4 separate regions of the Homo sapiens genome follow, and all the other regions are linked to region 2. The links are contacts of gene promoters, found by promoter capture Hi-C in blood cells and fetal thymus (Javierre and others, 2016). All regions are on one chromosome and are shown on one strand. The core of a region is centred on a gene start or on the middle of the fragment in contact, and the rest is flanking DNA. Distances in the headings are between cores, read along the strand shown.

Region 1 (2,908 bases), core at 100-2,599, 1.0 Mb before region 2:
GGCGGATCACTTGAGGCCAGGAGTTTGAGACCAGCCTGGCCAACATGGTGAAACCCCGTCTCTACTAAAAATACAATAATTAGCCGGGCATGGTGGTGCGGGCCTGTAGTCCCAGCTACTCGGGAGGCTGAGGCAGGAGAATCACTTGAACCCGGGAGACGGAGATTGCAGTGGGTGGAGATCGTGCCACTGCACTTTAGCCTGGGCGACAGAGCGAGACTCTCAAAAAATAAAGCTATACGAAACAAATAATAAATTGTTTCATATTCAGCAAAAAGGAATAATTTGAGTGGGGCCTGGTTAAATGTGGAATACATCTGAGAATTTTATCTCTACAAAGTTTAAAGTGTTTTTGAAGGGAATGGTGTTAACGTGAGGAGATACATGCAATGGCAAAAAGACTTGTTTGAAAACAAGGGCTGTGCTGGACATTACCCAGAGATTAAGTGAATTTAATCAAGCAGAAAGATAAATCAATTGGCCTCCTAAGCTCGGGAATACCAATAAGAATGTGTTCCCTGAACGGGCAATACGCTGTAAGGAGCCCTGTCACGTTTCACACGAAACCTTCCAGGATACCTGAACAGGAAGTACGCGGAGCCCGGGCCAGAGCCTCCCCAGGCGCGTGGCTCACCAGGCTCAGGCCCTGAAAGACCGGAGCATCCGCGCTGAGGTCAAACAGGGAGATCGACGCAGGAGCCGGGGCTGCATCTGGAGCCGGCGACATGGCTGAGCAGAAATTATTTAGCAGCAGCTCCTGGAGTAGAAAGCGTGTAAGAAACAGGGCTCCTGCAAACGAGATCCTACTGCTGCGTCTCCTGCCTGCCTGACTTGGTTTCTCCTGCACCGCAAGACTTCTCGTCTCTCATCCTGCTACCAACTGTGAGATGAATACCTTGGCCCCCGTCCACTTTCTCAAACCCCCAGTCTCAGCCCACAAAAGAATGAAATAGGCATTCGGCTCCCAAATCGAGTCCAACAGAGTTAAAAATCACTGAGCTTGCCTAGCCGAACTTTCTTCGTTACCCATGCGACCAGCAACAACTGGCCCGCGTAAACTCGCCCACGCCCTTAGAAGACGCACCAAACGTCCCGGGAGCTGAGCGGCTCGCAAGTCCTCAGGTCGATTGCCGGATTTCTGCAACACAACAATCCCCGTCACTACGGAGCAGCGAAGAGGACAACCGGCGGCGTCCGCACCTGAGCCCCGCCCCACGTAGAGCACACTATTGGGCCGCTGACTGTCCAAGACCCGCCTCGAGACTTTAGTCCCGTCCCTGAAGCCGAGAATTGGCCGTTGTGTCTCCGCCCCCCGTGCTTATTGGCCAGCCTGGCTGCGGGTGACAGTGAGTGGCAGACACCCGGCCTAGCGCCGCGGGTCGCGCCGAGCCGAGCCGAGCCGAGCGGAGCCGGCGGAGCCTCTGGAATCACCCGGGTCGCTGTTCCTGAGGTAAGACGTGAGACCGGTTATTGGAATCCCAGGCCCCGTGTCTGGCCTTGCCCAGGGGTGCCTGCGGAGCCCTAAGTGAGCTCGCGGCGGGTAACGGAGGAAGGGGCGCCGCCGGCGGGGCGGGGGCGCGCAGCCGGAATGTTTTGATTGCTGGCGCGCGCAGACGGGGGCGCGCGCGGGCGCCGGGGCCGCGCGCGAGGTTGTCCGCTGTTGGGAGCTGCCAGCCCTTGGCCTGGGGCCGGGCGACCCTGGGGCGAGGTGGACTCCGGTCCACGGTCGCCGCGGCTGGGTGTGGGGAGGCAAGCCAACCCACCCGGGCTATCAGCTGTAAGGCTGACTCGATCCCTGCAACATCCGCAGGAACCCCTGAGCCCAGGCCCAGCCGGCCGGGGCTCCACGGGCCCTGGTCCACACTGACCCTGTGAGTGGTGACTTCCCTGAGGGGCAGGGCTCTCACTAGCCCAGGGAATCCCACCGGGGCCAGGCTGGGCCAAGATCCACGGCCCCCAGGGGCTGCACGGACAGGTGAGTACCACCTCGACCATGCCTGGCTTACAGGACCTAGGGAACCCACAAATTCACCTAGGATCGGGGGTCTACACTGACCCAGTCAAGGTTTCCCATCCAGAAGGTTTGCTCACCGGCTGGATCTTTGGTGCTAGGGAAGTAAGAGAAGGGGTTGACCAGAAAGGTCCTCTTCAGGAAAGACTCTTGAGGTTTTGTGGACCCTGAGAAGTATGTCATTTCTGAGGCTAAGGTAGGGCAATGGAGAAATAGTCCAGAGGCGCCCCTGGCCTCAGGTCTGTACCCACTCATTCTCCATGGGGTCCCTAAGTTACTTCTTGAGACCCTGGAGTTGGAAGAGTGGCCCGGTTTAGCACAGCCAGAGGAAGTGCTCGTAGTCCTGGGCTGGAAGGGTGCTTCTTCCCCACTGCAGCCTTCCTGCCCCATGCTTGGCCTCCTCTTGGTGGGGTGTGGATGGCTGGGAGGGTTGGGTTCCTTTTTATCCCCACTGCCCACTCTCTGGGGCCTGACATCTTCTCCTCCAGCAGCTGCAGAGCATCGAGGGCTGGAGAGGAGCACATACTGTCCATGGAGCTGGTAGGGCCATGTGCTTTTCTCAAACATTTGTTTGTGAAGTGCTTCCAAACTGTTAGTCTCTTGGGAGACCAGGGTTCCCAGGATGGGCGGGGGAGGGACTCTTCTGTCCGTTAAATAGAAGATGAAACAGCCCCCAACAAAGGGACAGATTCTGGCTTTGGGCCAGGAAAGCAGCAGTAGACACCCAGACTGGCCAGAGTTAAGGCTCCCCCAGCCCTGAGCTTACTGCCTTTCTTGTGTCACTACTCCTCTGCCTCTGAGCCAAGGAGGCTGGTAGTGGACAAAGCCCAAGGGTACTTTCTCCTTTTGGCAGTAGGCAGGGCAGCCCATGGGCAGCAGCTGGAACTGAATCAGGGT
Region 2 (3,116 bases), core at 611-3,110:
GAAGTTAATTCAACTTCCTCCTATGTGTTACACTGCTCAGAAAAAAGTATACAGCAATCACCCAAAATAAGACTCTGGGCTGATTCATTTGAATATTTAAAATGCAAAGAAACTGGTAAGAGAGGCTAAGACAAGAAAGAAGCAAGTCAGCCTCAAATATAACCAACTGCAGCCCCTGGCAGGAAACAGTACTGCTCACTACACGTATTACTTCAAGGAAAGTAGTGCTTTGTTTTACAGATAAAATCTGTGGCCTTATAAAGGAGACAGGACATACTATATATTCAATTTAAATGGCAGTTAATACTTTCTAATGCCTCCAAGCCACAAGTACATTATGACCACTTAAAAATTCCCCTCTACCAATCTTCTCCCATCTGTGGATCTGCAAGCACTTTCCTATTACTAGTTCCCAGTTCACCAGAAACGGTCTGCACTTATTAACTGTGAAACCCAGATGTGAAGCCCCATGCTCATACATAGGGAAATGAGGCAAAGGGACTGGCCACAGGCCACCAAAAATTAGAACCCAAAATCCTTAGCTCATGTTTTAAATATTATACTAGAAAAGCAAAGCAGCTTTGGAGGAGCAGATTGTCTTCTACTGATTCTTGTGTTTGGCAGAGAGGCTGCCTTGGAAAGATGCCCTAAGCCCATCTTTTAAAAAGTCCAATCGTAAAGACAGGTTATCTAAGAACTTTATAGATTCTGGAGTCTTTGAAGTGTGTAACTGGGCCAGGGCTACCACAGAAGAAATCACAGACCTAGGGTCTTGATGTAAGAATTTACAAGATAACCAGATAAAGGCTAGTGGGTGAGGAGAGAGCATTAGAACCTCAAAGGAGAGATAAGGAAGGGGTGTGGAGCGAGGGACAATTGGCTTTGCTTTAAAAATATGTAACAAAATGGCCCAGTGTCTCTCACAGAAGGGTTCGGGGAAGGGAAACCAGAGATCGCGTTTTTCCGGCTCTAAGACTGGGTCGGCTTTTAGTCTTCTCTTCTGCTCCTTTTAAAGGAGATGGGGGTGGGGAACGAGAATGCTGGTGGCGATGTGGGCCTGCATCTCCTTCCCTCCTCCAGTCCTGGGAATTCCTGAAAACTCCTTCCAACCCAATTCCAAACAGGCTCTCTCTGGGTTCAGAACAATGCCGGGGAATTTCACGCAGGGAAGGGGTCCCCTTCTCGCCCCAGAGGGCAGGGGGCTACTCCGGAGCGAGTTCCGGCTCCAGGGTCCCCCACGTCCCACAGGTCTCCTGCCCTTTGGCACGCACAGCCCTCACCACTCGCTGCTTCCGCATCCCTCCTCTGAGCCTCTCCCCACGCATCTCTGCCCCTCGCCCGGCCGCGCCCAATCGCCTCCCACGTCTACCCCGCTGGGGCAGCCCCTACACCCTGCCAGGCACCCCATTTCTCTCCTCCAGGTCTGGGGGACTGGACAACATTGGGGATTAGCTGGGGTCAACTCTGCTTCCCCCGCCACCCCCGGCCCCGGGCGCGCGCTCACCCGGCGGCCGCGTTCTCGAACTTGAGCGCGAGCGTCTCCTCGATGATGCGGTTGTTCACCTCCAGCAGGATCATGGCGGCGGCTGCCCCCAGGGGAAGGAGAAACAAGGGCCGGTGAGGGTGGGTAAGGGAGGCAAGGACGGAGGGAGCGGCCCTGCTGCCCCCTGAGTGGGGCTGGGTGGGGTAGGAGGTTAGGGGAGAAGGGGAGAGGGGCCGGGGTGGAGGGAAGGGTAAGACGAACGCGCTGGCCCACGCACGCAGACTGTGGAGACACCCACCCACCCAACCGACCTGGCCCCCGAAGCCTGAACCCGCCTGCCGAGCCGCCGCCGCCGCCGCCACTGCCGCTTCACCGACAAGCCCGGTCCCCGCCCAGCCCCCGGCTCTAGCCGGCCACTTCCGCTCTCACACCCACTTCCGCTCGCCGCCTGGACGCGCGGCCCCGCGGCGCCATTTCCGCTTCAACCACTCGTGAACGCGAGCGCAGGCGCGCCGGAGGAAACGGAGGCTGCGCTTGCGTATGTGTGATGCCGCCGCCCCACCGTCTACTTTCCCACCGACCCCGCTTACGTCTACCGCCTACCAGTGCGTCCCCCGCGGAGCTGTCATTCCCCGAGGCTTGCCTGACTGTTCAGCTTCTCTCTCCCGCTTGTCCCAGAGATCCAACTCCATTCTTCCGGTCTTGTCATTTCAGAAACCTCGCAAGAAGCTCGCCCTTGTCGTCTCCCAGCGGGCTTCTTAGCTCCCAGCTTGTTTGATGGGGGTGCCTCTTTTTCTTTCCAGGTATAGCTGTCCAGCGACACCATCATGCATTCATTTCTCCAACAAACATTTTCATGGGCTCTTGCTCTATACTGGGGATGTAGTGGTAAATGAAATGGACGAGGCCCTGCCCTCGTGGAACTTACAGTCTGGCAAAGGAAACAGACAATAAAATTCTCAGTTGTCTAAGGAGGCAGAGATGCATGGGGAGAGGATCAGAGTAGGGATGCGGAAGCAGCGAGTGGTCAGGAGTGTGCGTGCCAAAAGGCAGGAGACCTGTGGGACGTGGGGGCAGCTGGGGCCGGAACTTGCGCTGGAGGAACACCCCTTGCCTGCTGGGGCGAGAAGAGGACCCTTTCCTTGGGTGAAATTCCCCATATTGTTAAAAGGACAATTAAAGAAATGAAAGAGAGGTCACCTGGGTGAATAGGCAACTTAGATGGGCCTCCCTGTGTTCCTGTCATGCCTCCAATTCTGCGTCCAGGTGTCCGGAACACATTTTTTTCTGCCTTTGAAACCTTCCAGTACCTCTGGCAGAGATATACCATACCCTCCTTGTTACCTGCGTGCGGAATCTTAACTCATCGTTGTGCTACATCTGCACCTTCTGCCTTTGTGCCTTGTTTTGTGTTTTCCCTCCTCCGGGGAGAATATAATAAACTTAGCTGAGTCCGTTCTACATACAAGGAAATAATTTATTTTCTGCTATGTGTTTGGGGATGGGGATAAAAAAATGAACAAGAAACTAGCTCCTATCATTAAGGCACAGATAGCCCTTTGAAACATTACTTAACGGGCTATGGATAAGCTTCAGGATATTGCTGATCCCCTAAAATTATACGCTAACTTAA
Region 3 (3,229 bases), core at 176-2,675, 1.8 Mb after region 2:
CCAACCAACCACATACCATGGCGTGACACTTGCTAACATAGTCTTTTTCCAACCTAGAAGAAGGAAAAAAGCATTAGCCTCCCATAGCCTGCACACTGAATTCTCCCCTCACATTCACCCCTTTTTATCATTCCTGGCAAATCAGTCTGCCTGTGGCTCAGTGCAAGCCAGAGCAGCTGGCCTTAGGACCTGACTTCCAACACAACACACGGAGCAACTGACTGACTCTCCTGGGAAAATAAGGAGCAGAAAAAAAAAAATTATGTGTTCACTGTGCAAATTAAGATGCTACATAAAGATGTAAACAAAAAAGAATAAAATTACTCTGTAATCTTACCAGCCATCAATAACCACAGTTGAAATTAATAATTTAGAGTATATAGTTCGGATTTTTTTTCATCCATAACAAAATGGCACATATTTAGGAGATATAAGAATTTATTATAAAGTAGGATCATTGTAAACATTCCATATTGCACCCTGATTATTTTTTTCCATGAATTTACCCGGAACATTTATTTTCCTATGAGCTGAGACATGTTTACAATATTTTAGAAGCAGCGGGCAGGACACACCAATTTGTCTGGCTTGGTTCAGACTAAATAGGCTGCATCTAATGTAATGCTGTGTAACGGTTACAATGATGATGTAGGGGTACTCCAGTAGCATTGCTTAGGCCTCTGGGCAGCTATAGGGTTCAAAGCCTTCCTTCCCTGCTGGGGCTCCCTTTGGCCAGAACCCAACCCCCCTCCCCCCTCCCCCACCACGAAGTATCTATCCCCAGAGAACTTCCACCTTCTCCAACCATTAGCAGTTAGGAAGGGGTGAAGAGGTTAGGAAAAGGTTTTGGAGGTGCACAGCAGAAGCCCTCAGTCTCTCTGGGTAACACACTCCTGCCTAAGTTTCCAACCAGGGATCTCCTGCACCTCCAAACTCCCCAGATCCCAGGCCTGGTAAGCTGTCTCCACTAACCAGAGAGACTCGGCCATAAGACCCACTGATCAGCCCCAAACCATAAATCCATTCCGCCACATGGACGCCCCTCTTCCCCTCTAGGCAGGGACCTCTGCCCCCCGCCCCCCACGCCCCGCATTTCGGGGCGAGCCTCACCCAGCCTCAAGGTAAGCGGGCGCCACGCCCCACTCCCACCCCTACGATCTCCACTTGGATTCACCCTTCCCATTGGCCCACTTCCTCCTCCAGGCTGGCATTGGTCTCGTCCGCCTCCGCCGCCTTCCTGCCAGTCTACCACTTTCTCACCCAGGGAGGCCTAGAACGCGAGCCACATTCGCCCCCGGCCCTGACCCCAGGCGCGACTGCAGAGCCTCCCGAGCGGGACCGGTCTTCCGAGTGGACGGTTAGGCCACGGGTATTCAAGCGCTGCGAGTTCGCCAGCCTTATTGTAGCGGCCAGGCCTGAAGGGCTAGGCCACCGCTGAACTACATTTCCCAGCAGGCAACGCGGCCGCAGTTTCGCTTCCAAAAGTAAGAATGATGAGACGAGAACGCGAGCGGGGCTGCAGTGTCTTCTGGGATTTGTAGTTCGGGCCGGGAGCCTGGCGAGAAACGGGAGCTGCAACGTCATGGGCGGGGCGAAAGTGGTGCACCCTGGAAGTTGTAGTTCTCCAGAGGTTTAGCCAAACACTAGGTCCTGAAAGCCTAGGACGTTGAGGTTTCCAAACCCGGAGTCGGCTGTCTCCAGAGGACATCCCAGACAGCCATACTAACTTGGCAGCTCTTAATAAAAAGTATCTCCCCGGGGCATCCATTCCTGGTATTGCTATACTTGCCATTTAAGCCCCACCCGCTGCGCCCGGCTGCCATCATCGTCATCATTGTAGTCATCAGTCATTGTGTTTAGCATAAATATGAGTTACCTCATTTAACCGCACTACAACCTATGGAACACATTCTTGTCCCCCTTTTACAGAGGGGGAAACTAAGACAGCTATTTGATAATATTTCTCAAGGCTTTATTAAGCTAGCTTGTGATTCTGATTCCATAGCCCCTCCTCTTGAGAGAAGATTAGTCATGAGACTTAAAGAGTCACTTTACCCCATCCTGAGCACCAACATCCTGAGCCATCCTGAGCACCATTGGTGATAAATATAACATTTCTCTATCAGTGTGCATATGAATGTTGCTATTGTTCTATTTTCAAACATGGCTCATTTAAAAACAAACAAGTCTACTAAAGGATTTGAAAAAATGGACCAGACATGCTAAGAAAAAGGAAGCACAGCAATGTGTGTAGTTTGATTTTTTTTTTTTTCATCCTTACCTGTACATGTATGTAAACTCATAAAGGTCTGGGAAGGAAACTTAAAAAGTCACCAAACTGTTCAGGAGCAGAGTGGCATGAAATACACTTTTCAGCTTTTTAATCTCTATTTTTCAGAATGATTTGAATTTTCTAAAATAATAATGTAGAATTTGTGTGACTTTTGAAACAATAAATAATCTCCCTTCTTCCTTCCTTCCTTTTTTTTTTTTTTTTTTTTTTTTTTTTTTTTTTTGAGACAGAGTCTCACTCTGTTGCCTAGACTGAGTGTGGTGGTGTAATCTTGGCTCACTTCAGCCTCTGACTCCTGGGTTCAAATGATTCTCCTGCCTCAGCCTCCCAAATAGCTGGGATTATGGGTGCATGCCGCCATGCCTGGCTGATTTTAGTAATTTTAGTAGAGACAGAGTTTTACCATGTTGGCCAGGCTGGTCTCAAACTCCTGACCTCAAGTGATCCACCTGCCTCAGCCTCCCAAAGTGCTGGGATTACAGGTGTGAGCCACTGCGCCCAGCCCATTTGTCTTAAATGACAAAGACATTGCCTGTCTTAGGGGATCTGTGTGAGGTTTAGTAGTAGAAAGTATTCAAATCTCAGCTCTACCCCTTTTATTGACCTGACATACCCAGTGATTGTGCCTCCATTTTCTCATCTGTAAAGTAAATGTAGAAAACAATACCACCTTGGTAAATCTTGTTATTAGAATCAAAGCAAGGTATTATGAGGGGAAGTGCTTAGTGAACTGTGAAATCCCAGAACAGGTAAGAGAGGGATGTTGTTATTATTTGAGGTAAATCTCTTATATCGTCCGTTTCTCTATACCTAGCGCTCATTTCCTACTGTATAGTGTGAACAGAAACTAGTTAATGAACACCTGTCCCTGCCCTTCCTGTCTCCCAACAGTCAGTTAATTTACTAAGAAAGCTGGGTGCCGTGCACTTGACTCAT
Region 4 (2,903 bases), core at 29-2,528, 1.0 Mb before region 2:
GTCAACGCTGCCATTGCCGCCATCAAGACCAAGCGCAGCATTCAGTTTGTGGACTGGTGCCCCACAGGCTTCAAGGTTGGTATCAACTACCAGCCTCCCACTGTGGTGCCTGGGGGTGACCTGGCCAAGGTGCAGCGTGCCGTGTGCATGCTGAGCAACACGACCGCCATCGCCGAGGCCTGGGCCCGCCTGGACCACAAGTTCGACCTGATGTATGCCAAGAGGGCGTTTGTGCACTGGTATGTGGGTGAGGGCATGGAGGAGGGTGAGTTCTCCGAGGCCCGTGAGGATATGGCTGCCCTGGAGAAGGATTATGAGGAGGTGGGCATCGACTCCTATGAGGACGAGGATGAGGGAGAAGAATAAAGCAGCTGCCTGGAGCCTATTCACTATGTTTATTGCAAAATCCTTTCGAAATAAACAGTTTCCTTGCACGGTTTCTTGTTCCCTCTGAGTGCTTGAGCTTCTGCTGCCTTCCCCTTCATGCTGCTGCTGCTCTGTTTGCTGTTCATGACCCTTATCCCTTCCATCGCTGAAGGTGAGACCTGCAAAGGGGTTCTTGCCAGGCCCAGGAAGCATAACCCCAGGGACTTTAAATTGAAGTCCTAGGGTTACTCAGTATAGGGAGGAAATGAGGACCAAAATCCAGGCACAAACTGTTGAAGGATGAGTCTTCAGCTCCTTTCCAAGTAGGAGTATAATCCAGTGGTTTCTGTCTTTGAAAGTTAGACTGCTACCCTGTTCTTCCTGCTGCCTCTACATTTACCAACTCTGGAAGCAAGGCTTGGCCCAGGCTCCTCTGTGCATTATGAGGGTTTGGGAGTGGGGCTGGGCTGGCCCAGAGTTCCTGGGCATGGAGCCACGTCATAAGCTTGGGGGATGGGAGGGAACACAGGCGATCTCCTAGAGTTGTTTGTGCCACTGCACCTCTGAGCAGCTTTGCATAGCTTCCTGTCTTGCTGCTTTGCTGGAGCTGGGGCTGTGCCATTAAAAGTCAGGTCATCTCCCCTCTGTTTGTGATTTCTTTCTGGCCTCAGCCTCTGTGCTAGCTAGTGGGAGACTCCTGCTAGGGCCCTGGGGAAAGCTTCAACTTTGCTAACAGGAGCCCCAGGCCCCATGCTGATGTCATACTGTGGGGTAGACATGGTTCGGGGGAGGAGGCTTGGATCACAAAAGAGCAGGAGATGCCAACCCTGCCCTTGCCTTTCCTCCCTGGTGATTCAGGGAACAGAGCCCTTCCCTAGGGAACAGGTTTGAAGCCCAGCTAAGACAGGGCCCCTGTTTACTCAGCAGAGTAGGCAGGAAGTGGCAGCTGGATACTGCCACACCACACTGCCTCATTAATCATTAACCATGTATGAGCTTGAACGATCAGGGAGACACAGGCCAAAACAGCTGCCGCTGCCACCTCCACTCCCCTCGCCCCTAGGCTGAGGATGGGAGACCTGTAATCTACCTGTCTCAAAGCTTCCTCAGGTGTCTCCACCCAGAGGCCCTTGCCTAGCAAACCGGCTAGGCAGCTTTGACTAAGCTACTCACCCCAGGAGTGAAGGAAGGAAAGAACTAGTTGAGTGTTTTTAGGGGGCCCTAGTTCTTGACACAGGCAGATGCCAGCTTGAGCCCAAGCAGCTTTAAGTTTTGATCTAAGACAAGCTAGAACTGTCCACTGCTAACCAACCTCCTGTAGAATGAAGTCACACCATTGCCGACTCTGCACCATTCCTCCTTCCCAGGCAGTTCGCCTGAAATGGCAACCTGACTTTGGGCCCCTTGCACCTCTTCTCTCACTCCAGGAACACTGAGACTAAGATCTACACCAACCTGCTTCCACTTTATTCTTGTTTACACATTCTCCTGCTCCCAGATTTGGAGTCAGAACACTATGTGAGCTCAACAGTCCTGCTCAGAGCCATGTTCCATATCCCACCAGTTTCCCTTTTCCCAACCCCCACCCACCCCCACTCAGTAAGTCCCCTTGCCCAGGTTTTGCTCTTGGAGGGAAGAAAGCAGAAGAAAAGATGCAGGACTGAGATGATTGTCCTGACCCCGCTACCCCCAAGTGTAAGAGAAGTCCTGGATGGAATGGGTGGTGATTCCAATGAGGGATGGGAACCTCTTTCCAAGGCACAAGGGGCCATCTTCTCAACATGCTGCTTTTTCAGATTTGGGTAGTATGTTGGCCAGGAGCTGGGGGCTGAAGCGCCTCCAGCTGACTGAGGAGGAGAGGAATGTGAGGACGCTGATGCGGGTCCACGGTCATCATCGAGTTCAGGAGCTGCCGCAATGCTGAAGAATGCCTGTGGAGGGAGGAGCCCAGGGTGACCGGATGACACCTATCTGTCAACTCAGCTAATACCAGGGGGGAGTCTGAAACACTTGATGCCCTATTCGTTGCTCACTCACCTGGGGCTTTGTGGGATGCTGAGTTGGTTCTGCACAGCAAGGGCCACACTGTCACCCTTTTGGAACACCATGTCATAAGGGCCTTCCCCAAACATCATGGCATATAGCACGCAGCCTAGGGACTGAGCATAACTTGATTAGTCCCTAGAAGGGGACCAGTGGAGGTGACATCTCTCCCTTTACTTCTGTGGTAAAAGGAGACTCCATAAGCTAAAAAGAATACGCTGACCTCAGCCACATGGCACCACCAGGGTCCAGAGAAACTGCCAGTCAGCTGGAGGCCTCCGCAGCCCCTGTTTAGCTTAGCCCCTGCTTAGCCAGTGCCTTCACTACTGACACTGAGCTGTACTCACCTTGTTCAGGGGCACAGATTATACCACATCCGGTACAACTGGGTACAGTATCAGTGACATTTCCCAGGAAGGAAGTTGAAGTGGATGGGGACATATTGTGGTTCCTGGCGCCCCATGCAACAGAAACCAACAACCTACTCTACTCCA

What was found. The method cuts DNA at HindIII sites, captures the fragments that hold promoters and counts their contacts. A CHiCAGO score of 5 or more calls a contact.
Region 1: a contact is called between the fragment with the promoter of ATG9A here and the fragment with the promoter of ARPC2 in region 2, in 5 of 17 cell types (total CD4 T cells, non-activated CD4 T cells, total B cells and 2 more). The highest score is 9.8, in total CD4 T cells.
Region 3: the fragment with the promoter of SMARCAL1 here is called in contact with the fragment with the promoter of ARPC2 in region 2 in 1 of 17 cell types (neutrophils); the score reaches 5.0 in neutrophils.
Region 4: a contact is called between a fragment that was not itself captured here and the fragment with the promoter of ARPC2 in region 2, in 1 of 17 cell types (total CD8 T cells). The highest score is 5.4, in total CD8 T cells.

The regions. Positions count from the first base shown.
Region 1 is chr2:219,228,077-219,230,984 of GRCh38, reverse strand. It overlaps ATG9A (autophagy related 9A), which reads left to right and starts at 1,349. Exons shown (of 16, transcript NM_001077198.3): 1 at 1,349-1,450; 2 at 2,500-2,551. ANKZF1 (ankyrin repeat and zinc finger peptidyl tRNA hydrolase 1) reads right to left here and starts at 1,179. Exons shown (of 14, transcript NM_018089.3): 1 at 1,085-1,179; 2 at 580-757. The coding sequence starts at 727. RefSeq lists enhancers at 985-1,094, 765-1,312, 1,313-1,860, 1,861-2,409 and silencers at 1,245-1,374, 1,585-1,634. The HindIII fragment of the contact is 5,267 bases long and covers 1-2,908 here.
Region 2 is chr2:218,215,933-218,219,048 of GRCh38, reverse strand. It overlaps ARPC2 (actin related protein 2/3 complex subunit 2), which reads right to left and starts at 1,860. Exons shown (of 11, transcript NM_152862.3): 1 at 1,795-1,860; 2 at 1,505-1,586. The coding sequence starts at 1,578. It overlaps LOC101928487 (a long non-coding RNA gene), which reads left to right and starts at 1,863. Exons shown (of 2, transcript XR_923908.2): 1 at 1,863-2,021; 2 at 2,198-2,948. RefSeq lists a silencer at 1,677-1,726 and an enhancer at 1,248-1,851. The HindIII fragment of the contact is 6,430 bases long and covers 1-3,075 here.
Region 3 is chr2:216,410,680-216,413,908 of GRCh38, reverse strand. It overlaps SMARCAL1 (SNF2 related chromatin remodeling annealing helicase 1), which reads right to left and starts at 1,425. Exons shown (of 18, transcript NM_014140.4): 1 at 1,261-1,425; 2 at 17-53. SMARCAL1-AS1 (SMARCAL1 antisense RNA 1) reads left to right here and starts at 1,409. Exons shown (of 5, transcript XR_001739881.1): 1 at 1,409-1,484. RefSeq lists enhancers at 1,316-1,405, 1,536-1,625, 1,369-1,663. The HindIII fragment of the contact is 8,553 bases long and covers 1-3,229 here.
Region 4 is chr2:219,247,815-219,250,717 of GRCh38, reverse strand. It overlaps STK16 (serine/threonine kinase 16), which reads right to left. Exons shown (of 8, transcript NM_001330213.2): 7 at 2,404-2,525; 8 at 381-2,297. The coding sequence ends at 2,159. It overlaps TUBA4A (tubulin alpha 4a), which reads left to right. Exons shown (of 4, transcript NM_006000.3): 4 at 1-1,008. The coding sequence ends at 366. Among named protein-coding and RNA genes, the nearest start is that of STK16, 3.8 kb to the right of the region's middle. RefSeq lists enhancers at 486-605, 646-735. The HindIII fragment of the contact is 383 bases long and covers 1,087-1,469 here.